7 separate regions of the Homo sapiens genome follow, and regions 1, 2, 4, 5, 6 and 7 are each linked to region 3. Evidence: promoter capture Hi-C in 16 types of primary human blood cells and fetal thymus (Javierre and others, 2016). All regions are on one chromosome and are shown on one strand. Each heading gives the region's core, a stretch centred on a gene start or on the middle of the fragment in contact. The rest is flanking DNA. Distances are from core to core; before and after follow the strand shown. Region 1 has its middle 65 kb from the start of CHASERR. Region 2 overlaps CHD2 (chromodomain helicase DNA binding protein 2). Region 3 holds the start of MCTP2 (multiple C2 and transmembrane domain containing 2). Region 4 holds the start of MIR3175 (microRNA 3175). Region 5 has its middle 46 kb from the start of CHASERR. Region 6 has its middle 90 kb from the start of CHASERR. Region 7 overlaps CHD2 (chromodomain helicase DNA binding protein 2).

Evidence for each region. The method cuts DNA at HindIII sites, captures the fragments that hold promoters and counts their contacts. A CHiCAGO score of 5 or more calls a contact.
Region 1: a fragment that was not itself captured here is called in contact with the fragment with the promoter of MCTP2 in region 3 in 2 of 17 cell types (total B cells and monocytes); the score reaches 7.5 in total B cells.
Region 2: a fragment that was not itself captured here is called in contact with the fragment with the promoter of MCTP2 in region 3 in 1 of 17 cell types (erythroblasts); the score reaches 6.2 in erythroblasts.
Region 4: a fragment that was not itself captured here is called in contact with the fragment with the promoter of MCTP2 in region 3 in 2 of 17 cell types (total B cells and neutrophils); the score reaches 6.7 in total B cells.
Region 5: a contact is called between a fragment that was not itself captured here and the fragment with the promoter of MCTP2 in region 3, in 2 of 17 cell types (naive CD8 T cells and erythroblasts). The highest score is 8.0, in naive CD8 T cells.
Region 6: a contact is called between a fragment that was not itself captured here and the fragment with the promoter of MCTP2 in region 3, in 1 of 17 cell types (neutrophils). The highest score is 5.4, in neutrophils.
Region 7: a fragment that was not itself captured here is called in contact with the fragment with the promoter of MCTP2 in region 3 in 3 of 17 cell types (megakaryocytes, M0 macrophages and naive CD8 T cells); the score reaches 7.6 in megakaryocytes.

The regions. Positions count from the first base shown.
Region 1 is chr15:92,816,338-92,819,755 of GRCh38, forward strand. No RefSeq gene overlaps it. Among named protein-coding and RNA genes, the nearest start is that of CHASERR, 65 kb to the right of the region's middle. The HindIII fragment of the contact is 1,256 bases long and covers 1,435-2,690 here.
Region 2 is chr15:92,972,819-92,976,634 of GRCh38, forward strand. CHD2 (chromodomain helicase DNA binding protein 2) reads left to right here. Exons shown (of 39, transcript NM_001271.4): 20 at 2,061-2,132. Among named protein-coding and RNA genes, the nearest start is that of MIR3175, 70 kb to the left of the region's middle. The HindIII fragment of the contact is 887 bases long and covers 962-1,848 here.
Region 3 is chr15:94,230,120-94,233,524 of GRCh38, forward strand. MCTP2 (multiple C2 and transmembrane domain containing 2) reads left to right here and starts at 1,442. Exons shown (of 23, transcript NM_001385001.1): 1 at 1,442-1,545. RefSeq lists a silencer at 1,372-1,501. The HindIII fragment of the contact is 9,020 bases long and covers 1-3,405 here.
Region 4 is chr15:92,903,693-92,907,336 of GRCh38, forward strand. The region is part of intron 2 of CHD2 (chromodomain helicase DNA binding protein 2); the gene reads left to right. It overlaps MIR3175 (microRNA 3175), which reads left to right and starts at 707; the gene lies at 707-783. RefSeq lists enhancers at 240-1,439, 301-480, 761-1,000 and a silencer at 551-600. The HindIII fragment of the contact is 5,562 bases long and covers 1-3,644 here.
Region 5 is chr15:92,834,614-92,838,483 of GRCh38, forward strand. No RefSeq gene overlaps it. Among named protein-coding and RNA genes, the nearest start is that of CHASERR, 46 kb to the right of the region's middle. The HindIII fragment of the contact is 3,215 bases long and covers 1-2,944 here.
Region 6 is chr15:92,791,069-92,794,621 of GRCh38, forward strand. No RefSeq gene overlaps it. Among named protein-coding and RNA genes, the nearest start is that of CHASERR, 90 kb to the right of the region's middle. The HindIII fragment of the contact is 6,180 bases long and covers 1-3,553 here.
Region 7 is chr15:92,998,063-93,001,830 of GRCh38, forward strand. CHD2 (chromodomain helicase DNA binding protein 2) reads left to right here. Exons shown (of 39, transcript NM_001271.4): 31 at 437-559; 32 at 2,450-2,578. Among named protein-coding and RNA genes, the nearest start is that of RGMA, 89 kb to the right of the region's middle. The HindIII fragment of the contact is 3,926 bases long and covers 74-3,768 here.

The sequences.
Region 1 (3,418 bases), core at 813-3,312, 1.4 Mb before region 3:
TTTTATTTATTTATTTATTTAATTTTGGGACAGAGTCTCGCTCTGTCTCCCAGGCTGGAGTGCAGTGGCGTGATCTTTGCTCACTGCAAGCTCCGCCTCCCAGGTTCACGCCATTCTCCTGCTCAGCCTCCTGAGTAGCTGGGACTACAGGCACCCACCGCCATGCCCAGCTAATTTTTTTGTACTTTTAGTAGAGATGGGGTTTCACCATGTTAGCTAGGATGGTCTCGATCTCCTGACCTCGTGATCTGGCAGCCTCGGCCTCCCATAGTGCTAGGATTACAGGCGTGAGCCACCACGCCTGGCCAGAGTGATATTTATATTAATGGGAAGGATGCCTCTGATGGGCAGTCAAGGGTCTGGGTGAGGAAAGATTTTCTTTTCACTGTATACTGTTTTGTATTGTTGGGAAAATGTCTAACGATTTGCATAAATATTAAATTTTTTAATTAAAAAAAAAATCTAGCATCTCTTCCTTTGGGAAGCCCTGACTGGCCCTCTCTGTTCCTTCCAGGAGTTTCTCCTTCTTTCATACTCCCAGACTTTTCACGGTGTTTACTTGTTATATTACAGCACTTATCCCATGTGTGGAAGGTTTCCCTGGGAAACCTAGACTATCTAGAAGGTAAGATTGATACCGTATTCATTTTTATGTTCCTAGGATCCATTGCAAAGTGATACACGTGCACATACACATTTTTTTAAGTCAGTTTTAATCTCTTTACATTTTTTAAGAGTTAATGGATGGATGGCCAGGCGCGGTGGCTCATGCCTATAATCCCAGCACTTTGGGAGGCCGAGGTGGGCGGATCACCTGAGGTCGGGAGTTTGAGACCAGCCTGACCAAGATGGAGAAACCCCATCTCTACTAAAAATACAAAATTAGCCGGGCGTGGTGGCACATGCCTGTGATCCCAGCTACTAGGGAGGCTGAGGCAGGAGAATCGCTTGACTCTGGGAGGCAGAGGTTGCAGTGAGCTGAGATCGCGCCATTGCACTCCAGCCTGGGCAACAACAGCGAAACTCCGTCTCAAAAAAAAAAAAAAGAGTTAATGGAAAAAGTCTCCCATCACTGATCTCTTTCACCATCACCCTTATCCTAGTCTGCTTGTGCACAGGAGACTTTGAGCTCTATAGACTCACTTTTACAATGTCACCCCAGCCTATATTATCAGACATCTCCAGCAAACCTTCCTCCGGTGGCTCCTGCTATAGCTGACTTTTCACTATGTTTTTGTAATTTGTTGCTTTTGTCTTGTTTTGTTTTTTAAATATCCACAACGTCCTCACCCACTTCTAGCCTTTATTCATGCCGTTCTCTTTACTGAGGTCCTTCCCAACTCTGCCAGCTTAGACTCCTTTGAGACCAGCTCATCGAAGTCACTTCCTCTTTGAAGTTTCTCTGTCCCCCGCCCCTGCCATCAATCTTAGATAAGCTTAACTTGATGTTTCTGCTCTCTCTCTAATCAAACTATGTGATCACTTGTCATTTATGGCAATTATCATTTTACATGTTAGTCCTCCAGACAAAAATAAGAACCCTTCAGAGACAGGGATTTTTTCTTTGTTTATCTTACTTTTCCCAAAATTTATGCCTGGCACGCAGCAGGCACTCAATAAATAATTGTTGCATGAATGGATGAATGAACAAGTTAATAGTAAGTGCTCATAATATTTGGATGGGCTGCACTTGGAGGCCATCCCTGAAGTTACTTATTAGGGGCAACACACCTGTATGCTGTGTTTGTCACATTCGCATCTTGGCTGGGCACCTTGAACTGGAGGCTTTCTGGTGTTGTTTGCCATTCTGATGAAGGTGTAGAAACCTAATTACATATGCCCTCTGTAAGTGTGTAGACCCTTAAACTAGGATTGCTAGATTTAGTAAATAAAAGTCCAAGTTGCCCAGTTAAATTTGAATCACAAACCACAAACTATCTTTTTAAATGTATGTCCCAAATATTACTTACACTAAAAAAATTATTCAGTTTATCAAAAATTCAAATTTGACTGATGTATTTTATCTGGCGGCCTTACCTCAAAGGCCAAATTTCCAAACCCTGCCTTCTTGCACTCAGATCCTGTTCTTAGATAATTTTATGAACTATGCAATTTTATCATCTTTATTAGATAGCCAGTCCTCCAACTCTCCTTGCTTTTTTACATACATTTAAACACTTTGCTTTCTTCAAAATTATTTTATTATATTTTAAACATCAGAGTTTAGCCACTTAACAGAATTGTATTTGAGAGGGCAAATGCCCCTGTATCTTTCCGCTGGCATTCTCTGTATATTTTCTTGAAGTCTCTATTCTGCAGTACGTCTTAGTTAAAGGAAGATTATCTCCAGGTATGGCGATGGGGCTGCTGTAGGCCATTAGAAACCCTGCAGAGCTGTCTGGGCTGTAAAATGCCACTTCCCTGCAGAGGAAAGGTGGGAGTGACACTACCCAACCCGGTCTCTGCGCCGACCTAGCTTGGCAGCCATTACATATTATTATACATTAGGCTTTCCACGACTTTTGCAAAAGTTAGAGCCACCAGGTGATCTGAAAGAAGGCATTTTCAGATTTCAGTTTCTTAGTACTGGTAAATGAGCATCAAAACCAAAAATGTGGGCACCAACTGCAGCTGCACATATTTTTGTTTTACAGTCACAGTTCCTATCACATTAAATCGCGTTCCCTTGAAGCTTCAAAGTGGATGACAGTTCTACACTACAACCTTTTCATTGCACGTAATTAATTTTCCCTGTGATAAGTCGCCATCCCTTCAACATCCAAACTTGAAAATTACCGGCTAACACTGTCCCTAGGTGTCTAAACTCATGCAAAACATTTGTTTAGTACTCAAATATCACAGCTCCGCATTCTGAAAAACATGAAACGTCCGTCAGAAATTACTAAGAAGTGGTGACTGGAATTTCGGAGCATTTACGTTAGGGAAAAAAGGGATATGTTAAAAGGGGGTTGGGGTGGAGGTGCAATAAATGTGGCTGAATATGGCTGAGAAGCATGGGGAAAATGGCTCAATCCGGGAACGAAAAATCAATTTGCCAAGGCCATGATAAGACTGGAACATCTCTGTCCTCTATATTTCATGAGAAGCCATCCTGATGGCCACAGTCATGCCTGCCATCAGAGCAGGGTTCAGGAGGAGTGGACGGGTATGCCTGACAGCAGATTACAGCAAACAGACATCTACCACCGAGCAAACCATCAGAGAAGGCACCCAGCGAAGGGCTGTATCTTTCATCTTTGGAAATGGACTGAAGAGATATTTAATGTGTCAAGAGCTCTACTTCCGGGAGACCAATATTTCTTTTTTATTCAGTTATTTCAAGGAGGGCTCCCAGTAAATTTTGCTTGGTAAGGAGATTAATTTCAGAGCCATGGACTCCCGTAGGATATATCCTGGA
Region 2 (3,816 bases), core at 155-2,654, 1.3 Mb before region 3:
CCAGCCTGGGCGACAGAGCGAGACTCCGTCTCAAAAAAAAAAAAAAAAAAAAAAGATTCCAGGAGGGTCTTAATTTTTACTTGCATGCCTTTAGGCTACCATATGAAAGTGGTCATGAGGAGACGATTCTTTTTTTGAAGGTGGGTGGGGAGGATTAGAGAAAGTCAAACGGGGCAAGATAAAAAAAGGATGTCAGATGGCATCTTATTGCATGTGTATGGTGAAAGTAGAGAGGAAGTAAGTGTGAGCTCAATTCCAGGAGCCCAAATCCTAGAAGGAGAGGGCAGTATCAGACATTCCCCCCAAAAGTTGACCCTGGCTGTGAGGCTGGGAACATAGCAGAACACTGCTACTTAAAACCTTGCTACTCCCTGAAGTAAGTGATGATGGCTTCCCCTATTTTCTGTGGAGTTCCTTAACTGGAGTTACTGTCTTCACACAGTTATCTCCTATGGGGAAAATTTCTTCCGCATAGTAACATTTTTCTAGGTGTATATAATCTAGTAGAAACTTATTCTCTGATCTATTTATAGACACATAGACATATACGCAATTTACCTTGTCTCTTGGCATGTTTATAGTGCTTTGATTTTTAAGATTTATTACATTTTTTTTAAAACTTTGAATGGATGAACTCTTCTACCAACTCACATAATTATGTTGGGATTGAAGAAACTTGGACCAATGATTATCTCCTAAGAAGGCCCACCTTTGAGACTATCAGATTGATTATCTTTCAAAATACCCTGAAAGGCATTGTTATATCCATAATATCTTATATGGTCTTTCAGTTGCTGTCTTAGAATATAGCTTAAGGCTGTGCTTGTTATCAAGAAACAGCCTATTGCAAAAAGTCACTTCTCTGTCAGTGAATCGAATCCCTATGAGCTTTCATTCCTAGGAAATCCCGTGATACCAAGTAAATCAAGAATGCATCGTTTTTCTCTCTAGGGAATAGATAAGCTTGGTCAGTGACTTTTAGATAATTAATGCCCTCTACTAATGGGAATATTAAAAGGCGGCATTAGGTTTTCTGATTTCAAGTAAAGGCTCTGAATCTCCCATTGAATACGTCTTCGGTTTAAGGCTCTGAGTAGAGTAGTCAGTGAGAAAGAAGTAAGGGACTCCTCACCTGTCAGTTGACTTGAGTTAGGTCTGGTGGGCAGAGTTCTGGGTATGTAGGCCCTTCCACAGAGTCTGCTGCCAGCCAAGTCACCTTTCAGGTTAGTTTTGCCTTCTGTAAAATGAAGTATTTTGTTCATCTCAAGTGGTGATTGTGAGGGGATGAAATGCAAAAATGATTTTAAAGAGTAAGAAATGCTTTATAAAATGTACAGCATGCAGGTGATAATTCTTTAGTATTTTATGTGTCAATGGTTTCTCTATGGTGACATTGTATTGCATGTAGAACTGACATATGTTCTAATAAAGGAATTGTGTATGCTAATAAATGCCAGGGGCTTTCTTGAATTCTCATGTAGTTTAGCTGCTTGAACACTTTACTATGATTTCAGAGTGTAATTTTTGGCAAAGCTGGGATATATGATCAATTTTAACATTTTCAATGATTCAGCAAAATGTTTTTCAAACAAAATTATTATATAAATAAATTTTTGGTTTGTGTGACACTTTAAGTGATAGTTTTAGCCACATTAGCTAAGAAGCATCATTTTTCTGCAGGAGCTTATTATTGGGTGACCCGTGGTCCTATTTCCTAATCTCTGCAGTACCTACAGAAACAGAAGTAAACCCAGCCTCCAAGCACAGGTTGGGTTTTCGTCTTTCTCCTTTTAGGTCCTGGCAGCCATTCTGATCCTTGGCTAAACCTGGACAGCCCTTTGAATCAGAAGCTTGTAACCTTGAGTCTGTAACTGGAGAGCTCAGGTCGAGTAGGGTAGGGTGTGCTTCTTAAGCACAGCTTCTTCATAGCGCTTTGCCAGTGCTTTGCAGTTATTTTTACTCAGTGGGTGTTCAGGTGATAAAGGTTCCAAGTCTGCTGTTCTATTCTGAGTGTAGCTGATCTTCCTATCTTACAGTTTTCTTGTGGTTTATTTTTACAGCGTCTGGATGGTTCCATCAAGGGAGAAATCCGAAAACAGGCACTGGACCACTTCAATGCAGATGGGTCTGAGGTATACTATGCATGGCTTTGTTATTTGAGCAACTTGGGCTCTGCATCAAGGGGAAAGTCTCTCTCGCTTAATGTATTCTGTTTCAGAAACAATTTATAGTGCAATTCTTTTGCCTTGAGAAGAAAATGAGAAATCTCTCATATAAAAGATGGTGTTTTGTTGTCACTCCAGAAAAATAAATATGTGCTTATTTATCTCCCCTGTTCTGGGTTGACAACAGAGTGGTTCTCCTGGTAGCTTCCAGATACCAAATCCTTGGGCGTGGAAGAGCAGTAAGGCAGGAGTAGGGGAGAGTTGGGCAATAGAATTAATATAAGAAGGTTCTGATCTCTGTACTCTTTTGGTGACTAAGTCCTGAAAAATATATTTGCCATGTCTCAAATTTGTTGGACTTCTGATACAGTGTGGCTTAATGTTCTTGCTCTCGCTAACAGCAACATTTTACAATCAGTGTCGAGCTTGGATTTGGCATTATGAAGTATTTTGTTTGGGGGGCACATATAGAAGAGCTACTTAGGATGAAATAGAAGGTATGACAACATTGTAGTTTGTGCATATCAAATCATCAGATGCCATGGGATTTGAGAGAAGTGGGAGAGAAAAGTTTTGGTGTGAATAAAACTGTAATAATGTGTAGAGCTAAAGGAAGCAGTGGAGACAACCTGAAGTAGAAGTGTTTCACAGAGAATGCTAATTTCTGGAGCCTGAGCCACTACTTTTTTTTTTTTTTAAACAGATAGAACAGACTTAGCTTTCTGAAGAGCTTTAAAAACTCTTGATGCCTGTGCCTGTTACTACAGAATGCTCTGCTGTCTGCCTTTAGAGTGTAGAAATCCTAGTTAGACTAGTATTCTGGCTACTTCTGTAGTCTAAACATTTACTTCTTGAGGGGCTTGGGGCATTAATCTATTCAGAGCCAAGGCTCTCGTTCATTAAGGATAAGAGGAATGGAATAATTAAAGACATCGGTCATCAACTAATTCCCATTCCTCCTTTCCTTGCTCCTTGTTTCCTCAGCTGTAAAATCACAATGATTCTGATACCCCACTTCATAATATTGCTCTGAGGATTAAATTTGGTAATCAACATAAAGCACTGATCACATTGCCCAGTGCATAGTAAGCGCTCTAAATATCTGCTATTTTTATCATGTAGTGTTGGTTGAAATTGGTTTTGTGTTCTCCACTCTTAGTTTAAAAAATAGTATGAGTCGAATGTTTCATATTGCCCTGTCTCAGGGGAAAAAAAAAATTGCTTTTTGCATAGCTCTCAGTTGATTCCCACTCACTATGATGGCTATATAGAACACAAGTTCTCTACCATTTCTGCAGTATTTTAAAAATTCCTTTAAAAAACTAAATATTTATTGTGGGACAAAATATTATATGCTTACTTAGAATATTGGGAAGATGGTAAAGAATACAAAGAAAAAAACAATTGTACCCCTCATTCTAGACACAACTTGCTGTTCACGTCTTTGGGGTGTATTTCCATTCCTACTAGATGGAACCATTTATATGTTTACCTAATTCGGATCATGTTGCATACAGTTTTGTTCCCTTCAAAATTATACTTTGAGGCTAGGCGCGCATAGTGGCTCACACCTGTAATCTTAGCACTTTGGGAGGCCAAGATGGGGGAGGATCACTTGAGACCAGGAGTTTGAGACCAGCCTGGTCAACAT
Region 3 (3,405 bases), core at 192-2,691:
TTAACTGTCTCCTGGTTTGTGAAAATTCAATATGATCACGTGTTACATGCCAATCACAGAAACTGGTGCGAAGTTGTGTTCCTCAGTGGTAGCTATTGTTGTAAGTCGGAATTGCATGACAGTGGCAGCTGTTTTCTATCACGTCCTCATGTTTTCTAAATTTTTATGCCCCTTCCTCCCATTTCCTACCTTAGTATTGTTAATAGCTAACTTTTATTAAGTGGTTACCATGGCCCAGGACACTGTAATGAGGATTTTATGTGAATTACCTAATTAATTTCTCAGAAAGTATGAGATAGCTATTATTTTAAGCTATTTAAGCTATTTTAAGCTATTTAAACAACCAGTTTGTTGAAGTTAAAATTTAGAGAGGTTAAGTGAACTCGTCCATTTACACAATTAGTTGCCCAGGCAGAATTTGATTTGAGGTCTGACTCCAAAGCCGGAGCTCTTAATCACCAGTGACACCAACTAAACGCTTCATTTCAGAGCTCGCCTATTCCCAGAGGTCCCATTCCCGTTTTAAGGTTATTTTCTGTAACTCTCTTGTATCTAATTTAAAAATGCTATTTCCCAGAGATGAGTCCCTGATCTCCCAGAAGGCATGGATCATACATTTCTTTTCCTAATCCACCCAAATTCCTAGAGCGCACAGACTTAGGCTCGTTCATAGACGGGAAAAGAAACTGACCAGGCAGTGAAACCGAGCAAACAAAGTGCAATAAGACAATTACAGCAGGAAAGCGGCGTAAAAAAAAGTAGAAAAAGAAAGTAAGGGAAAGGGGAAATAAATAGCAAATATTCGCTGAGTGCCAACAATCGCACGGGAGGGTCTTTAGGGTTCTCTGCCGAGTACTCGGGACGGCTTGCTGAGCAGTACGCCGGCCTTATCTCATAGATGAGGCACCAAGGCTCAGGAAACAGTTCTGTGGATCTGGGCGGGCATCTTCCACCCACAGTCGCGCACACGTGGCATAGGTTAATAGGCTGTCTGGCTCGGGTACCTCTTCCCAGGGTCAGGGCGTTACAAAGGGAGGCTGCTGTCTTCCCATGAATCTATTAGGGACCTACAGGAGCGAAGAGAACCCTTCTGAGTATCAGCGAAGACAGCTTATTAAGACTTTACGAGTTTGCAAGCCATCCTCGTCCTATTTCCTCACTTCGGACTTTTTGGACACACCTTCCTTTTCCTGTGAGCCAACCCAAACGAATGAGTTACAAGTAATCGCCTTCTCTACGCCCAGCCAGTGCCCAGCACCAAGCATAGCGCCTCCTTGCAACACCCGGCCGAGCTCCCGGCGGCAGCGCGGGCGCTTGGGTCGGAGGCTGCTCAAAGGTGACGCGCGGCCGCCTCCTCCCCTTTAGGCGGGGCTCGCAAGGGCGGTGGGGGGGCCCGAGGAAGTCCGGGGGCCCTCGGTGATGCCCCCGCCCCCGCCGCGTCAGGGTTGCTCCCTGCGCTTCCGAGTGGCGACTGCAGCGGGTCCGGTGCAGGTGAGGGGCGCGCGCCTGCCCAGCTTTGCAGCCCCCGAACGCGGCCTCGCACAGGTGAGGGCGGTGCCGGGTTCACCTGGCAGCGCGCGTGGGCCGGGCAGCACGGTCGCCGCCTGGGGGTGGGCGTCTTCTCTCAACCGAAGCTGGGAGTTGGGGAGCTGGAGGGTCCAGGATGAGAATTCAGTGGCGCTACTACCCCGGAGCTGCTTGTGGTTCAGAGATCAGAAAGGTGTCCTGAGGACTGGAGGCAGAAATCCAGGCGTGGCGTACTGGAAGGCGCACTAGGGGAGGGCAGCCTGGCCCAGAATTTCTTTGCATTTTAAAGGCCACACATTCAGTCTCCCCGGGGCGCTACGGAGGTAGTCACCGCCACATCCAGGACTCCTTCCACAGAGGTCAGTTCCTCAGCTGGGTGGGCTTTAATACGCTCTCTTCGTAGAGACCCGGAGGTTCAACTTTAATTCTTTGCGCTGACATTTGCTCAACGACACCGGAGCAGAAATCCTTGGGATAATTGCGTAGGTAACAAACAGTGTCTCAATCCCACTGAAGATAAGTAAGTTAAAAATAAAGACAGTGATGTTGGTGGTGAACTTGAGTGGCGATTAGTTTCCGCAATTAGTTCCCTCCTGCACTGTCCATTTGTTAAGCAAATGTGCTGACGGCTTTTTTTAAATGATTGGGTTGCCATAAAAGAGGTTTTCTCTAGTCTGAATGAACTTCTGTGCGATGCTGACTGAGGGTTTCAGCCTCCTCTAGATGCTTACAAGAGCTTGGTCTGGAAGGTACAAGGGTGCGAACCCTTAAGGTACCAAGCAGCTTCTCAGTGAACCGTGAGACGTTAGAACACTTGCTTCAGGACGCACAGAATTCAGACACCACTTATTGAAGGATTTGTATGGATTATAATTTACATTAGCATTCATTTTTTGCTTGAGTCAGTAGCATTTCAATTCAACAAATATTTATTGTACACCTGTTAACGGGCAGACCTCTGAGAGCCGGGCTGGTGTGCTGTTGGGTAGCACAGGTGTTGATATTAATACAAAGGGGAATCTTAAGGCACTTATTCCTCACAGGTGGGTGTTTAGAACGAGACCAATGGTGCTGCGCTTTGCCTCAGCAGCACCTGTGTAATCGCTGGTTATAAGTATTTAAATGCAGGGAGAATGTAAATCTTTGAAGAGTCTCTGTCATTAGCCTGATCAGTCATTCCAAAGCAATAAAAATTGTCAAAACCATGCTTAAAATAAGATTATTAAGAATTAGCTCTGTGCCAAGCACCATGCTAGGCACTTTGTCTTGTCTATGAAATCTACAAAGTAGATACTATTCCCCTGTGCAGATAAGGAACTGAGGCAGAGAGGAGTCCAGTAATTTGTACAAGGTCAGTGGTGAATTTAGAAATTGCATGTGGCTATTTCTGAGTGCAGAACTCGTACTTTTTCACTATTCCATGCTGTCTCTAAGATGGAGAGTGTAAATCCGGCAGATTTAATATAAGAATTCAAATTTATATTCATAGATCCTATCTCCTGGGGATTAATGGAGTTAAAGTAGTCCTCAGGAATGAAGTGAGCACTGTTTTCATTGCACTTGTGTGGTCAAGCTGTGACCTATCTGTGACTAGTAGATGTAGCTTTAAAAGATAAAATTTATTATGTGTCTTAACATATTTTGAAAGGCCTTTCAAAATATGTTAAAAGATAAAATTTATTATGTCTCTTAACATATTTTGAAAGGCCTGATATATCCAAACAGGGCCAATTAATAAAATTGCATATATATTCTCTCTGTGTTATACATGGAAGGAACAGCTAATTTCCTATTATTGGTGTGCTTTACTATGGTCTCCTCCTGCAGAGGTGAGTTTCTCAGCTGAGTGGGCTTTGAAATCAATTTCAGCTTGATTTC
Region 4 (3,644 bases), core at 40-2,539, 1.3 Mb before region 3:
CTTGGGGATAACTTAAGTAACATCAAAGAATGAAAACGGGACTGTGTGCACACAAAGAGTTCAGTGTGTTCTCCACGGCACCACGTTAGCAATTTATCTTAAGAATTGAACGAGTTTATTAAATTTATCTCCAAATCGTCTGCCTTTGAGCCAGATTTATTTTTATAACCTGAGGTGCGGGTAAATCCTACAATTTTCAGGGGCGCTTTACCAGATATTCTAAAAGGCTGGGGATGATTAGAAATGGCATAATGCAGTTACTTGTGTACTAGAACAGGCAGTTTAACTGGCAGCCATTTTATGACGCTGATAATACATTAAAAAACGGGATTTTGGAGAAGACTGAATCTAAACTAATAGAAATCTGAAATACCAAAGCCTATTTCCTTCCCCCTCTCTGCTCTTCTGGGGAACTCTGGTGCCGACATAAAAGGCAGTTCGATAGGGCACGCAGCAGCTCTTTGAGCCCCTGGCATCTTGATGCAGGTCCAGCTCAGTCACAAAATGGCTGTTCCTTTGTGCCGCAGCGCTGACAGACATACTGCATTGCACTGTGTACTCGCCAAACAGCAGGAAGTTGCCGTGCCGAGTTCAAAGGCCGGCCGGCGCCGGCGCGGGGTGCTGATTGGCTGTGCGCGCGCCTGGTAACAGCAGGGTCAACGGCGGCGCCTTCGGCAGCCTCCGCCCCGTGACGTCAGACGGCTCCCCTGGGGGGCGGGGAGAGAACGCAGTGACGTCTGGCCGCGTGCGCATGTCGGGCGCTTTCTCCTCCCCCTACCCAGGGAGCCGCACGCCGAGGGGAAAAGGAAGGGAACTCTAGTTGGGACTTTCCGGTGGGCGGCTTCTTTCCTGGACGCGTTTGCTCCTGGCAGTCTTGTCCGCCCTTGCCTGTAGCGGTCCGCACCCTGTAGTGTGTTCTTTTGCCCATTTCCGGGAATGGTTTATCCTCTTTGAGAAGCGGCTGCTTTTGGAGAAAAAGTGCAGGCACTATTTATAAATTTTAAAGGCACTATTTGGAAATCTTAAAATAGAAAATTTGCCCAGTTTTACATTTTCCCTTTTCATACCTTAGCGTCCCTTCTCCCCGCCCCCGTTCAGTGTGAAGAGATGAGTGGGTTTAATTTTGTTACAATTGACCAAAACGTTTGAGTGTCAGAGGCGGATACTTTTATTTTAGTGAAAACCTCTTGACGGGTGTTAACAGCTGTTTAATACATGGCTCATAAACAAAGGGAAGATTATTTGAACTTGTCCCCATGCGTTTTTACTTGGTACCGTACATTTTCTCAGTTGGCATTTGATGGAGAAAAACTCAGGTCAGTATGTGCTAAGTACTATATATTTAAGATTCACAGTGGGATAGTTTAGTAGAAAATAGAAAATTTCACGTTCAATAACATTAAAAAGTGGCAGAATACAGCGTTAGGCAACCATTACTATGTAAGTAAATGTCAGAAAACTACTCTTTTAAGTGTTAATAGCACTTGCTAATGCAGGGTGACTGACAGCTTGGCTGATAGTGGGGTCACTTGGCCAAATCTTCGCAATTATCTTCCCTAGGCCTCCATTTCGGGAATTCTGAGTCCCGGTAAACGGTTGGGTTTATGCTCACTGATTTGCCTTGTTTGGAAACCTTTACAAGGATTTCTGGTTAAAACTTCATCGTTCAGCAACGATGTCTTAATAATTAAATTACACATACTGAATTTAAGCAAGCAAGAAATTCAGTGGATTTATCTACTGTGGACAAAGTTTTTTTCCTGCCATACTAGAGTTTTTTTAGCAGTTGGAGTAGGCTGTCCTGTAGTTAGCCATAGTTTAGAGTTATTTTAGTAAAGTGTGTTACTTCAAAGGAGATGTTGACCCTTCAGTGCAGGTGATATTTGCTTGGGCGTATGTCAAGTTTCTGAATACAGTCTGTGAAAGTTAGAATTCACTATGATAGTGAGTTTTGTAGGTTCTCATAATCTAGGTTCTTTGGGAAGAATTATTTGGATAGTTTGTGAAAACTAGCTGAAATTGCTTTTTCTGTTACAGAGAAGTGTTCATCAAATAATTTGTACCTGATTTTAAAATTATATGCTCAAATGTATATTGCGTATAAAATGCTAACAGAGAATTAAGTGTTTATAGAACTTGATGAACGTTTAACTGTAGCTTCCAACTTAAAGTATACCTGCCACAAGAACGAAAGTAATAATCTCACCTCCCTTTTTGTGTAGAGACTGAATTCTAATTAGTTGTGTTAATAGTATTTGCTGAATACCTTTCAATTCCTAAAACTGGGGTCAAAGTAGTCAACATTGCAGTTAATTATTTTTGAAGAGGATATGAACTATTCTGTTATTTAAGATATTTTAACCTAAATACCATTATGAGTTAAAATGCATACCATGATATAACAATTTACCTATTAACTGTTGACAATCTTGCAGCCAATTAAGTTTTTTATAGAACCAGTGTTCTTAGGTATGTTTGTTGAGCCTTCTACTTTTTTTCCCTTTGATGTGGGGAATAGCATCAAGCAGCAAGAAAAGAGTGTTGATCGATTTCTCTCTCTTTCTCTCTCTCTCTCTGTATCCTTGCCGTTTAAAATATGCACTTTCCAACTAGTATTTGGCCGTTAGGGAGTTAGTATCTTTGTAAAGATTAAGTCAGCAGAGGAAGGTGGGCAAATAATATTTTTGATAAAGACTTTTGGTTGTGACAGTTGTAGCAAGTTATTGCTTGAGGAGTGAATCTGGAAGTTTATTTGAATTTTAACTAAAACTCACAGATTTTATCATTAGTTTACTCTCCCTTACCCCCAAATAAAACAACTGACAGTTATGAGAGACCTCCTGAGACCACCTGGTATTTCCAAACTCCTATCATTTCTCCCATAAAATTTGATACACTAAGTTTGTTTCTGGTATAAAAATTGAGTGACTGCTCTGTGTCAGCCATTAAATTTTTTCTTGCTATGAGCCATCTTTTTTTTTTTTTTTTTTTTAAGATCCTTTAGTTTTTAGCTGCTTCTTGGTAACCTTAGAACTTTGCTTCCTTGAAGAACTTGGCTTTCTTGATATGGTGTCACTTGAACAAAGAAACTTAAAAAAAAATTCCTCTAAGAGTATTTTGTGTACAGGTGAAAGTAACTTTGTGGCTTGGTTACACTGGGTGTGTCACAGCTGAGTAACTCCCTCCTGCACTTCAGCTTGACTAAGCGTTGAGTTCACATGTATACCTTTGCAAAGCTGCCATTCACAACTTGTTTTGGAACTTTAGGGTTATCAGTATAAAGCCTGAGTAACAAAACTTAGTCATCCAATGTCCAGGCTGGATTGTATTTTTATTTTGTGATCAGTAATTCAGCACAATGCTGGAACACATTACTCACATTTGTCTTATGACCCTTTTCTGTAATCAATGGAATCTTTAATTGATAAAGCAAGTCTAGGGGGAGAGACATTTTTTAAAAAAAGCTCCTATATACTGAATATATTTGAGCCCTGATTATGAAGTGAGGGACAAGGCTTTTCTTTTTGAAATAAATGATGGAGGACATAGATATGTGGTAGCCATTCATGCTACATAATTTAGCATTTTATTGTTAATATGTTTGGTTATGGGTCTTCTTGTTTGGTATTTCAACATGTTCTGGA
Region 5 (3,870 bases), core at 87-2,586, 1.4 Mb before region 3:
TCCACCTCCCGGTTTCAAGCGATTCTCCTGCCTCAGTCTCCTGAGTAGCTGGGATTACAGGCACTCGCCACCATGCCTGGTTAATTTTTTCTATTTTTAGTAGAGTCGGGGTTTCACCACGTTGGCCAGGCTGGTCTCAAACTCCTGACCTCAGGTGATCCACCTGCCTCAGCCTCCCAAAGTGCTGGGATTACAGCATGAGCCACCGCGCCCGGCCACACATCTACTTTTGATCAGAAATATTATTACCCAATTCAGAAACCAATCTTATTCACCATGATAGTTCATTGTCACATTTCATAAGACCAGCTCACCCCTACCCCTGATACTAGAATTTATGCTTATACTTCCAATATGTTTTAAAATAATTGTTACCAACTGCGTCTGTATAGTTATTATTATATATAAAGTATATAAATATAATTCTCCACATCATGATTTATCAAGTTAATTTGCAAGCCCTGAAAGAGAAGAATAAAACTGTCTATCCACAGATGGGGGATTCTTGATTCTAACTATACTATCACCTATTGACTGTTAATTAGCATTATTATTATTTCCATTAATGGAGAAATGCTATTTGTTAGGCATTTCACATATATAAACTTACTTACCACGACAACACTACGAGGTACATATTTTTATCCTCATCTTTTTCCCAGGGAAGAGCAGGATTGGAGAGTTTATGAAATTTGGCTTTGACCACACAACTAAATTTGAACCCAGTATCCTTTTATTTGATCCAAAATAGGCTTTTCTTCATTTTTTTCTAATTTTATACCACAATGTGGAATGTATTTTTGCCTGAAGTAAACAGTGGAAAATATTCTAGACTGGGATTTGGGAGATTGGGTTTTGTTCCTGGCTGTCTTACTGATCAACAGTCTTTTTTAAAGCATGTCTTTCTCTGGACTATGTTCCCTATCATTTAAAATAAAAATCACTTGAGGTCAGCAGTTCAAGACCAGCCTGGCCAACATGGTGAAACCTCGTCTCTACTAAAAATACAAAAATTAGCCAGGCGTGGTGGTGTTCACCTGTAGCCCCAACTACTCAGGAGGCTGAGGTGGAAGAATCATTTGAACCCAGGAAGTGGAGTTTGCAGTGAGCCGAGATCGCGCCACTTGACTCCAGCCTGGGTGACAGAGCGAGACTCTGTCTCAAAAATTATATATAAATAGGCCGGGCACGGTGGCTCATACCTGTAATCCCAGCACTTAGGGAGGCCAGGATGGGTGGATCACCTGAGGTCAGGAGTTTGAGACCAGCATGACCAAAATAATGAAACCCCGTTTCTACTAAAAATACAAAAAACTAGCTGGGCATGGTGGCAGGCACCTGTAATCCCAGCTACTCAGGAGACTGAGGCAGGAGAATCACTTGAACCCAGGAGGCGGAGGTTGCAGTGAGCCGAGATTGTGCCATTGCACTCCAGCCTGGGCAACAGAGCGAGACTCTGTCTCAAAATAAAAAAAAATATATATATATACACACACACACACACAAACACACACACACATATATGTTATATATATGTTATTTATATATAAATGTTATGTATATTTTATATATATATTTGTATATAAATAGAATAAAAGTTTCGTTTAAGGCCTTATTCAGTTGAAAAGTAGTACCAGGGACTGTTCTAAGCATTTCACATATATTAATTTGTGACTCATAAAAATCTGTGATATAGGTACTAGTAAAATGCCCATTTTACAAATGAATGAACCAAGGTGCAGAGATTAATTAACTTTCCCAAAGTCACAAAACTAGTAAAGGGGGTTTAGCTGTGATTTAAGCCCAGGCTGTCTGGCTCCAGAATCCACCATGTTATGAAGCGACATTTATTGAAAGCCACTGTTAAAAACAACCTTATGGTATCATTAATAACATTATTCTCTTCAATTCCACCTTCTTTCCTACTTTTTGGGTGAAGAAACTGAGGCTTAGAAAATATATCTCGGCCAGGCAGGGTGGCAAATACCTGTAATCCCAGGACTTTGGGAGGGCAAGGCGGGAGGATTATTTGAGCCCAGGAATCTGAAATCAGCCTGGGCAACACAGGGAGACACTGTCTCTCTAAAACAAATGTTTAGGCCGGGCACAGTGGCTCACGCCTGTAATTCCAGAACTTTGGGAGGCCAAGGTGTGTGGGTTGCCTGACGTCACGAGTTTGAGACCAGCCTAGCCAACATGGTGAAACCCCATCTCTACTAAAAACACACAAAAAATTAGCCGGGCATGGTGGCACACTCCTGTAATCCCAGGTACTTGGGAGGCTGAGGCAGGAAAATCTCTTGAACCAGGGAGGTGGAAGTTGCAGTGAGTCAAGATGGAGCCACCCTTCCCATTAATATAAATGTCACTCCTTTCTCTTTTTTTAAACAAATAGATGCATTTTCTATTCAGCTTTTTATACCTCCACCTGTTTTTTGTTTTTTTGAAATGGAGTTTCGCTCTTGTTGTCTGGGCTAGAGTGCAGTGGTGCATTCTTGACTCACTGTAGCCTCCACCTGCCGGGTTCATGCAGTTCTCCTGCCTCAGCCTCCCAAGTAGCTGGCACCACCATACCACGCCTGGCTAATTTTTATATTTTTTAGTAGAGATGGGGTTTCATTATGTTGGTCAGGCTGGTCTCGAACTCCTGACCTCAGGTGATCCACTATTTGACTTTCTGCCTCGGCCTCCCAAAGTGCTGGGATTACAGGCATGAGCCACCGCATCTGGCCGAGGTAAATATTTTTTAATCACAGAAGTAGGCACATACCACACACACTGTTCTGATCTTCCTTTTTATTTCTAATTAACAATATGGCTTGGAAATTATCCCTCATAATACCGAAAGCACTTTTTTAAAGGGGTGGCACAGTTTTCTATTTTAGAGATGCACCATCATTTACCTAACCATCCCCTAGGATCCCTGAGGTTGTTTCTGATCTGAAGCTTTTGACAGGCCACGCATAGTGAATCTGCTTGTGTCTTTGCTGCTGCGCCCTGTAGGCCCCTCTGAGATCTCTCATGTCATGTATGTGGGGGCAGGGAGGGGAGCTTATGGCACGTCCTTCCCGGCCAGCAAGGCATATATTACCGTAGAGTTTTCTCTATAGGACTGGAGTCAGAAAATTCATACAGCTAAGGCGAGGTATAGCTCAGAAAAAGCATCCAGAAGGCAGCTCAACCGATCAACATCAGTGACAACAGCACGAAAATACCACAAGCTTGGCCTGGCACGGTGGCTCACGCCTGTAATCCCAGCACTTTGGGAGGCCAAGGTGGACAGATCATGAGGTCAGGAGATCAAGACCATCCTGGCTAACATGGTGAAACCCCGTCTCTACTAAAAATACAAAAAAATTAGCCAGGCATGGTGGCGAGCGCCTGTAGTCCCAGCTACTCTGGAGGCTGAGGCAGGAGAATGGCGTGAACCCAGGAGGCAGAGCTTGCAGTGAGCCGAGATCACGCCACTGCACTCGAGCCTGGGTAACAGAGCGAGACTGTCTCAAAAAAATAAAATAAAATAATAAAAAAAAGAAAACACCACAAGCTTTTCCACCATCTCTAGCCAAATATGCCACGGTCATCTTTTCCAGCGGGGCCTTCAGTCCCAGGGACCAGGCCAGTTCTGTTACTCACACAGCTGGAAGCACTGCTTTACGGTTTAGAGCAATGTGGACCAACAGATGAAGAATGACCGGGATGGAGTTGCCTGAATGTTACCCACCTACGGCTGTTTCTCTTGTGAAACAACCTGGGCAACTTAATTCATCTCAGTTCTCACGTTCTCTTCCCTGAGATCAAAGTTTCTGATGAGGCTCAGGGTCCCTCCCAGAAAAGCCAGCTGAGTGCCTGCTTCTGCCTGGCTTTGTC
Region 6 (3,553 bases), core at 784-3,283, 1.4 Mb before region 3:
GCTCACACCTGTAATCCTCCCAGCCTTTTTGGGGGTCGAGGCAGGTGGATTACATGAGGCCAGGAGTTCAAGACCAGTCTGGACAACATGGTGAAACCCTGTCTCTACTAAAAATACAAAAATTAGCTGGGCGTGGTGGTGCACACCTGTAATCCCAGCTACTCAGGTGGCTGAAGCAGGAGTATCAGTTGAACCCAAGAGGCAGAGGCAAGACTAAAAAAAAAAAAAAAAGATGCCAAGCGAGGTGGCTCATGCCGGTAATCCCAGCATTTTGAGAGGCCAAGGCAGGTGGATCACCTGAGGTGGGGAGTTTCAGACCAGCCTGACCAACATGGAGAAATCCCGTCTCTACTAAAAATACAAAACTAGCCGGGCGTGGTGGCGCATGGCTGTAATCCCAGTTACTCGGGAGGCTGAGGCAATATAATCACTTGCACCAAGGAGGCAGAGGTTGCAGTGAGCCGAGATCATGCCATTGCACTCCTACCTGGGCAACAAGAGCAAAACTCCATCTCAAAAAAAAACAAAAAAAGGTTAAAAAAATTGTTAAGATGGCCAATTGTATGTTATATGTATTTTACTACAGCTTTTTAAAAATCAATTTCCTGTATACTTATTTATTCATTCATGCATTTGTTCAATCATTCAATAAAACTATATGTGCCAGAATCACACAGAGATTTATGTAAAGACTTATCTGTGGACTAAGAAAGACAAAAGGAAATTAAATAGGCAAAGAAATGACATGAGGACATTATAGGCATTAAGTTCAGGATGTGGAAAACCAAAAAAGCTGAACCAGAGATAAGACGAAGTGAACAGAGACCAGAGGTAAAGACCTCAGGTACCCTGCTAAAGAAGAGATTCTATTCTCTAAGAAGCAAGAGCAACTAAAGATGTATGTAGCACACAGACCTCCTATCCTGTGTTTTAGGTGGGCTCTGGCTTCCACTTGGAAACTGGATTAGAGGGAGCCAGGTAGAAAGCCAGAAGGAGAGGAGACAGGAACCACAACCCTGGCAGGGCGATGACAGCCTCCATCACAGGTCGCAAACGCACATACCTACACAGGCTAGCCAAAGACATCTCCAAAGTACAACCACTCAGGCCTGTGGCAGTCTGAGATCTCTCACCTGGCCATAGTGGACATTTATTAGGGCTTCCAGAATATGAAGAGGAACCAGACACAGATCCATAGGTGAAAGGGGACTCACCATTGCCTCTTACACTGACCGCTGCCCAATTTTTGTCATGCTGGATAAAACATGAGGCAAACTGCCGGGCACGGTGGCTCACGCCTGTAATTCCAACACCTTGGGAGGCAGAGACAGGAGGATCTCCTGAGCCCAGGAGTTCAAGACCAGCCTGGGCAACATGGGGAGACTCCGTCTCTATTTTTTTTTTTTAACAACAACAAAAAAGACATGAGGCATAGAGACTAAAGCAGAAAAGAAATCCTTCTCTCCTGCTTTCTTTCAAAGGGGGAACAAGTAACAGGGAGGCTACCTCAATTTTTACCTCTCCAGAAAAAGACAGGAAGCAGGACACAGGCTACTGTAAGTCAGGGCATAATTCATTGCTCTGATGGTTCTCCAAGTGCCATCCCTGAGCCAGCAGCATTCACATCCCCCAGGAGCTTGTTAGAAACTCAAATTCTCGCCAGGCGCAGTGGCTCACACCTGTAATCCCAGCACTTTGGGAGGCCAAGGCAGACGGATTACCTAAGGTCAGGAGTTCGAGGCCAGCCTGGCCAATATGGTGAAACCCTGTCTCTACCAAAAATACAAAAATTAGCCACGCGTGGTGGCAGACGCCTGTAATCCCAGTTAATTGGGAGGCTGAGGCAGGAGAATTTCTTGAGCCCGGGAGACAAATGTTGCAGTGAACTGAGATCGTGCCACTGCACTCCAGCCTGGGCAATAGAGCAAGATTCTGTCTAAAAAATATATATATATATATATTAGGCCTGGCCCCAGCCCTACTGAATCAGAATCTCTGGGGATGGAGCTTAGGAATCTGTGCTTTAACAAGCACAGATGTAAGTTCAAGTTTAAAACTGCTGGGCCTGGTGGATCACTGCTGTAATCCCATCACTTTGGGAGGCTGAGGCAGGCAGATGACTTGAGGTCAGGAGTTTGAGACCAGCCTGGGCAACGTGGTGAAACCCCTTCTCTACAAAAAATTAGCCGGGCATGGTAGCATGACCTGTAGTGCCAGCTACTCTGGAGGCTGAGGTGGGAGGATTGCTTGAGCCTGGGAGGTGGAGGTTGCACTGCACTCCAACCTGGATGACAGAGGGAGACGCTGTCTCAAAAAAAAGGTTTAAAACCACTCCTCTTTATAATATAGTGTACATGCCACTTATGGCATGCTCCCTGATCTTCTACCCGACTTACCTGTTAAAACTAATGCTCAGGCTCCTTTGAATTTACTCTTGGTAAAAAAAAAATTGCCTGGCGGGGAGCAGTGGGGCATGCCTGTAAGCCCAACACTTTGGGAGGCCAAGGCAGGTGGATCACCTGAGGTCAGGAGTTCCAGACCAGCCTGGCCAACATGATGAAACCCTGTCTGTACTAAAAATACAAAAAAAAAAATTAGCTGGGCTTGGTGCCATGCACCTGTAATCCCAGCTACTCAGGAGGCTGAGGCAGGAGAACTGCTTAAACCGGGGAGGCAGAGATTGCGGCGAGCAGAGATCACGCCACTGCACTCTAGCCTGGGTGACAGAGTGAGACTCTGTCTCAAAAAAAAAAAATTGCCAAATTTATCTCCTCACCAAAAATTTAAAAATTTACTTGTGTGAACGTGTCACAAACACATAAAGCAAAGTACACCTGTCTCATGCATTTTATGTATATTCCATCTTATTTCATAAAACCTTTGAGGTGGTTGGTGTACAGGTAATGAATGTTTACCTTAGATTTCAAATGCACTTTATGAAGACTGTTAAAATGTTTAATCTGTAGAAGATCCAGAAGTTTGTAGGGACTTGGAGACCAGAGCTTTCTAGTCCACAAAGTCAAAAAGCCTAGGAAACATACACCAAGAGAAACCATCTATAAGAAGCCAGGCAGAGGCCGGGCGTGGTGGCTCACACCTGTAATCCCAGCACTTTGGGAGGCAGAGGCAGGCAGACCACTTGAGGTCAGCAGTTCCAGACCAGCCCAGCCAACTTTGTGAAACCCCGTCTCTACTAAAAATACAAAAGTTAGCCAGGCGTGGTGGCACACGCCTGTGGTCCCAGCTATTTGGGAGGCTGAGGCAGGAGAATCACTCGAACCCGAGAGGCAGAGGTTGCAGTGAGCCGAGATCACAGCACTGCACTCCAGCCTGGGTGACAGAGAGCGACTCCATCTCAAAAAATAAAAATAAAATAAAGAAGCCATACAGAAATCCTGTGTATCCAGGTGTCCTGGGGTCTTCAAGGTGAGGGCACTCAGTGGTCCTCTGTTGTTATATAAGAAAGAATGTGAACATTTTACTGAAATTTTAAGAACCACCTATTTTTCTCCCTGTTTACAAAATATGTCGGCTGGGCATGGTGCCTCATGCC
Region 7 (3,768 bases), core at 787-3,286, 1.2 Mb before region 3:
GGAACAGATCATGTCCTGGCGTAGCTCAGTGCTCTCCGGCAATGCTCTAAGAAGCATTTTCAATCTAAAACGAAGCTTTAACCTAGCTCCAGGGATTCCCTGCTCCTGGAAGGAGGAAATCCACGACGGCTGGGATGCTCTAGCAGATGAAGCCACAAGCCCCTCCTACCTGAGTTGTTCTACCCTGTTAACAGCACAGGTAGGAGCCATTGGGAGAGCTGGATTTCTCCATCCCATTTTGTAAAATGAGAACGGCTCGTGAGGGATTTTCAGTGACTGGGAGCCATGGACATGAGATAGGATCTGAGGCTTTATCTATATTTTGGGTGGTTGGGGAGGGAAAGGACTGTGCTCAGTTTTTGTTGTCTCTGTTTATCCTGATCCACTAACCAGGATGTGGGTGGTGGCGGGTGCTTCTCTTCCTTTCTTGTTGAAGATTCTGCCGGTGGAGACAGATAAAAAGCCTCAGGGGAAGCAGCTACAGACCCGAGCGGATTACTTGTTGAAGCTGCTCAGAAAGGGTCTGGAGAAGAAGGGGGCTGTGACAGGTGGGGAAGAGGTGAGTACGCTGCCAGCTGGTTGTTTTTCAGGGGCCTGAGGCTCCTACCCTGCAGAATTAGGTAGGAAGAGAGAGGCCCTCTCTGAGCACTGCACAGAATGTCACCTTCTCATGGGCATATTTTGTTTTTGAGGTTCCAGTAATGATGCTTTGCTTGGTAATAATAGAAATGTTCATTTAGGCCTGGCGCAGTGGCTCATGCCTGTAATCCCAGCACTTTGGGAGGCTGAGGCGGGCGGATCACAAGGTCAGGAGATTGAGACCATCCTGGCTAATATGGTGAAACCCCGTCTCTACTAAAAATACAAAAAAATTAGCCGGGCGTGGTGGCACACGCCTGTAATCCCAGCTACTTAGGAGGCTGAGGCAGGAGAATGGTGTGAACCCGGGAGGCGGAGCTTGCAGTGAGCCGAGTTCGGGCCACTGCACTCCGGCCTGGGCAACAGAGCGAGACTCCGTCTCAAAAAAAAAAAAAAAAAAAAAAAAAAAAAAAAAATTCATTTAAGACCACGGCATCTTGGCAGCTTTCTTACAAACCCATCCTTCTGAAATGTTGCTTCAAATTCATCCTCTGCTCCCCAGTCCCACTATTCCACACATACTGTTACTGTTTCTTTATCCTACTTTCTCAATTTTGGAACATAGTTGCAGTTACTGCATTGAATACCTGTGGGTTTGCCTGTTGTTCTGTCTGTCTCTGTGGTTCTTGTAATAGTGGATCCCAGAGATAAAATGGACAGTTGTAATGCACAGTTAATTCAGAAACTAGACCTTACTTGCTGTGTGAAATACCAACTAAATTCTCAGTGAACTCAGCTGAGCTTTATCTCCTTTTGTTTCCCCAATTTATAATTTCAGTTCAGGCCCAGAAAGATGGAATCCCAGCTAAGAAATACAAGTTACACCCTGTACTAGCAGCCCATGTGTGCATGTTCTTTAAGTGCTCTTGCAGCTATGTCATTTATATTGATTTCCCTGTATTATTATAAGCAAAGCAAATTTGAGGAAAAAAACCCATAATACCACACCTCATTTTTTTCAAGTAATAGGGTCATAAGTCTCATTCTTCATATAATATGTTGAGTATGCAATATATTATGTGTTAGGCTCTGGAAAGGCAGAGGTTAGATCATGTTACAGATCATATCTGATTAGGCAGATAAACAGTATTTTAACCTTTTCCTTATTATATGTAACTTGCTTTCAGGTTTTTTAATGTTACTATTATGTCTTTAATATATTATCTTTATTTGTACTTTTGTATACAGAGTGATTTTCCTTTTTTAAAAAAAATTGTGTCTTTAGGATGGATTCCAAAGATGTGGAATCAGTAGGTTTAAGGAATATGGATATTTTGGCTGGCAAGGTGGCTCACACCTGTAATCCCAGCACTTTGGGAGGCTGAGGTGGGTGGATCACCTGAAGTCAGGAGTTCGAGACCAGCCTGACCAACATGGCGAAACCCTGTTTCTACTAAAGACACACAAAAAATTAGCCAGTGGTGGTGGCATGTGCTTGTAGTCCCACTTAGCTACTCGAGAGGCTGAGGCAGGAGAATCGCTTGAACCCGGGAGGCAGAGGTTGCAGTGAGGCAAGATGGCACCTCTACACTCCAGCCTGGGTGACAGTGCAAGACTCCATCTCGGAAAAAAAAACGAAAAAGGAATATGGACATTTTAATGTGGTATAGGCCATGTATAAGGCCTATAGGTTTTTATTTGTTTTGGTTTGGTCTTGTGAGGTAAAATGAGTTGCACTCTTTTGATTTCTTTGGAATTTTCTTGTTTGAATTATATGGCTGCTACTGCTTTAAAGAGTCATCATGTTGTTTGGTTATGCTTTTGAGTGTCTTGATTTGTATTTTAATCATCATTTTCTCTCCTTTTCCAGGCCAAATTAAAGAAGCGGAAGCCTCGGGTAAAGAAGGAAAACAAAGTGCCCAGGCTGAAAGAGGAGCATGGAATTGAGCTTTCATCTCCTAGGCATTCAGATAATCCATCAGAAGAGGGAGAAGTGAAAGTATGAAGTGGGGTTTCGGTTGAGGGTTATTTATTTATTTTAGCTATACTTATCATGCCAGCTGGAATAAAATCATCTGAAATGTGTTTGGTTTACGAGTGGATTAAATGGAAATAGAATATGTAAGTCTTCGCTTAATCTGTCAGCGAGGATAGTTTAAGTCAGCAACTGCAAATTTGTACATAATGGAAGTAAATGAAGGGGACTATGACATTTTTGTTGTTGTTGTTTGTTTGTTTGTTTTTGAGATGAAGTCTCGCTCTTGTCCGCGAGGCTGGAGTGCAATGGCACAATCCTGGCTCGCTGCAATCTCTGCCTCCCAGGTTCAAGCAATTCTCCTGCTTCAACCTCCCAAGTAGCTGGGATTACAGGCACCTGCCACCACGCCAGGCTCATTTTTGTATTGTAAGTAGAGATGGGGTTTCACCATGTTGGCCAGGCTGGTCTCAAAACTCCTGACCTCAGGTGATCTTCCTGCCTCGGCCTCCCAAAGTGCTGGGATTACAGGCGTGAGTCACCGCGCCCGTCCTAAAGTTTTAATGATAAATGGCGATTGACACGTAGCCTCATTCTTGCAAATGACGGGGAGTGGTCAGGACTGTGGTTAACCAGAGAGCTCATGCCTAATGTAAAGGGGGCAGCTGCTATGGAGTTCTGTTAACAAAACTCCTGTGGGTCAGGTTTGGCTTGCCAGTTTGTAACCTCTGGTCTAAGTAAAGTGAATAGTAAGTTGGTATCATTTAGTGTGCTATTTCAGTGACAACTTTATGGAATTTCTGAGAGTGTAATTGTACTTGGATATTAGCTCCAAGAGGATCAGCAGTGTGTACAGGAACTAGCATGGATTTGAGTCATACATACAGATATTTATTTATTTATTATGAGTTGCTTTTTGAGATGGAGTCTTGCTTTGTCACCCAGGGTAGAGTGCAGTGGCGCGATCTGGGCTCACAGCAGCTTCCACCTCCTGGGTTCAAGTGATTCTCCTGCCGCAGCCTCCCAAATAGCTAGGATTACAGGCACCTGCCACCACACCTGGCTAGTTTTTGTATTTTTAGAAGAGACAGGGTTTCACCATGTTGGCCAGGCTGGTGTCAAACTCCTGACCTCAGGTGACAGGTCTGCCTCAGCCTCCCAAAGTGCTGGAATTATGAGCATGAGCCACTGTGCCTGGCCAATACATACGTACA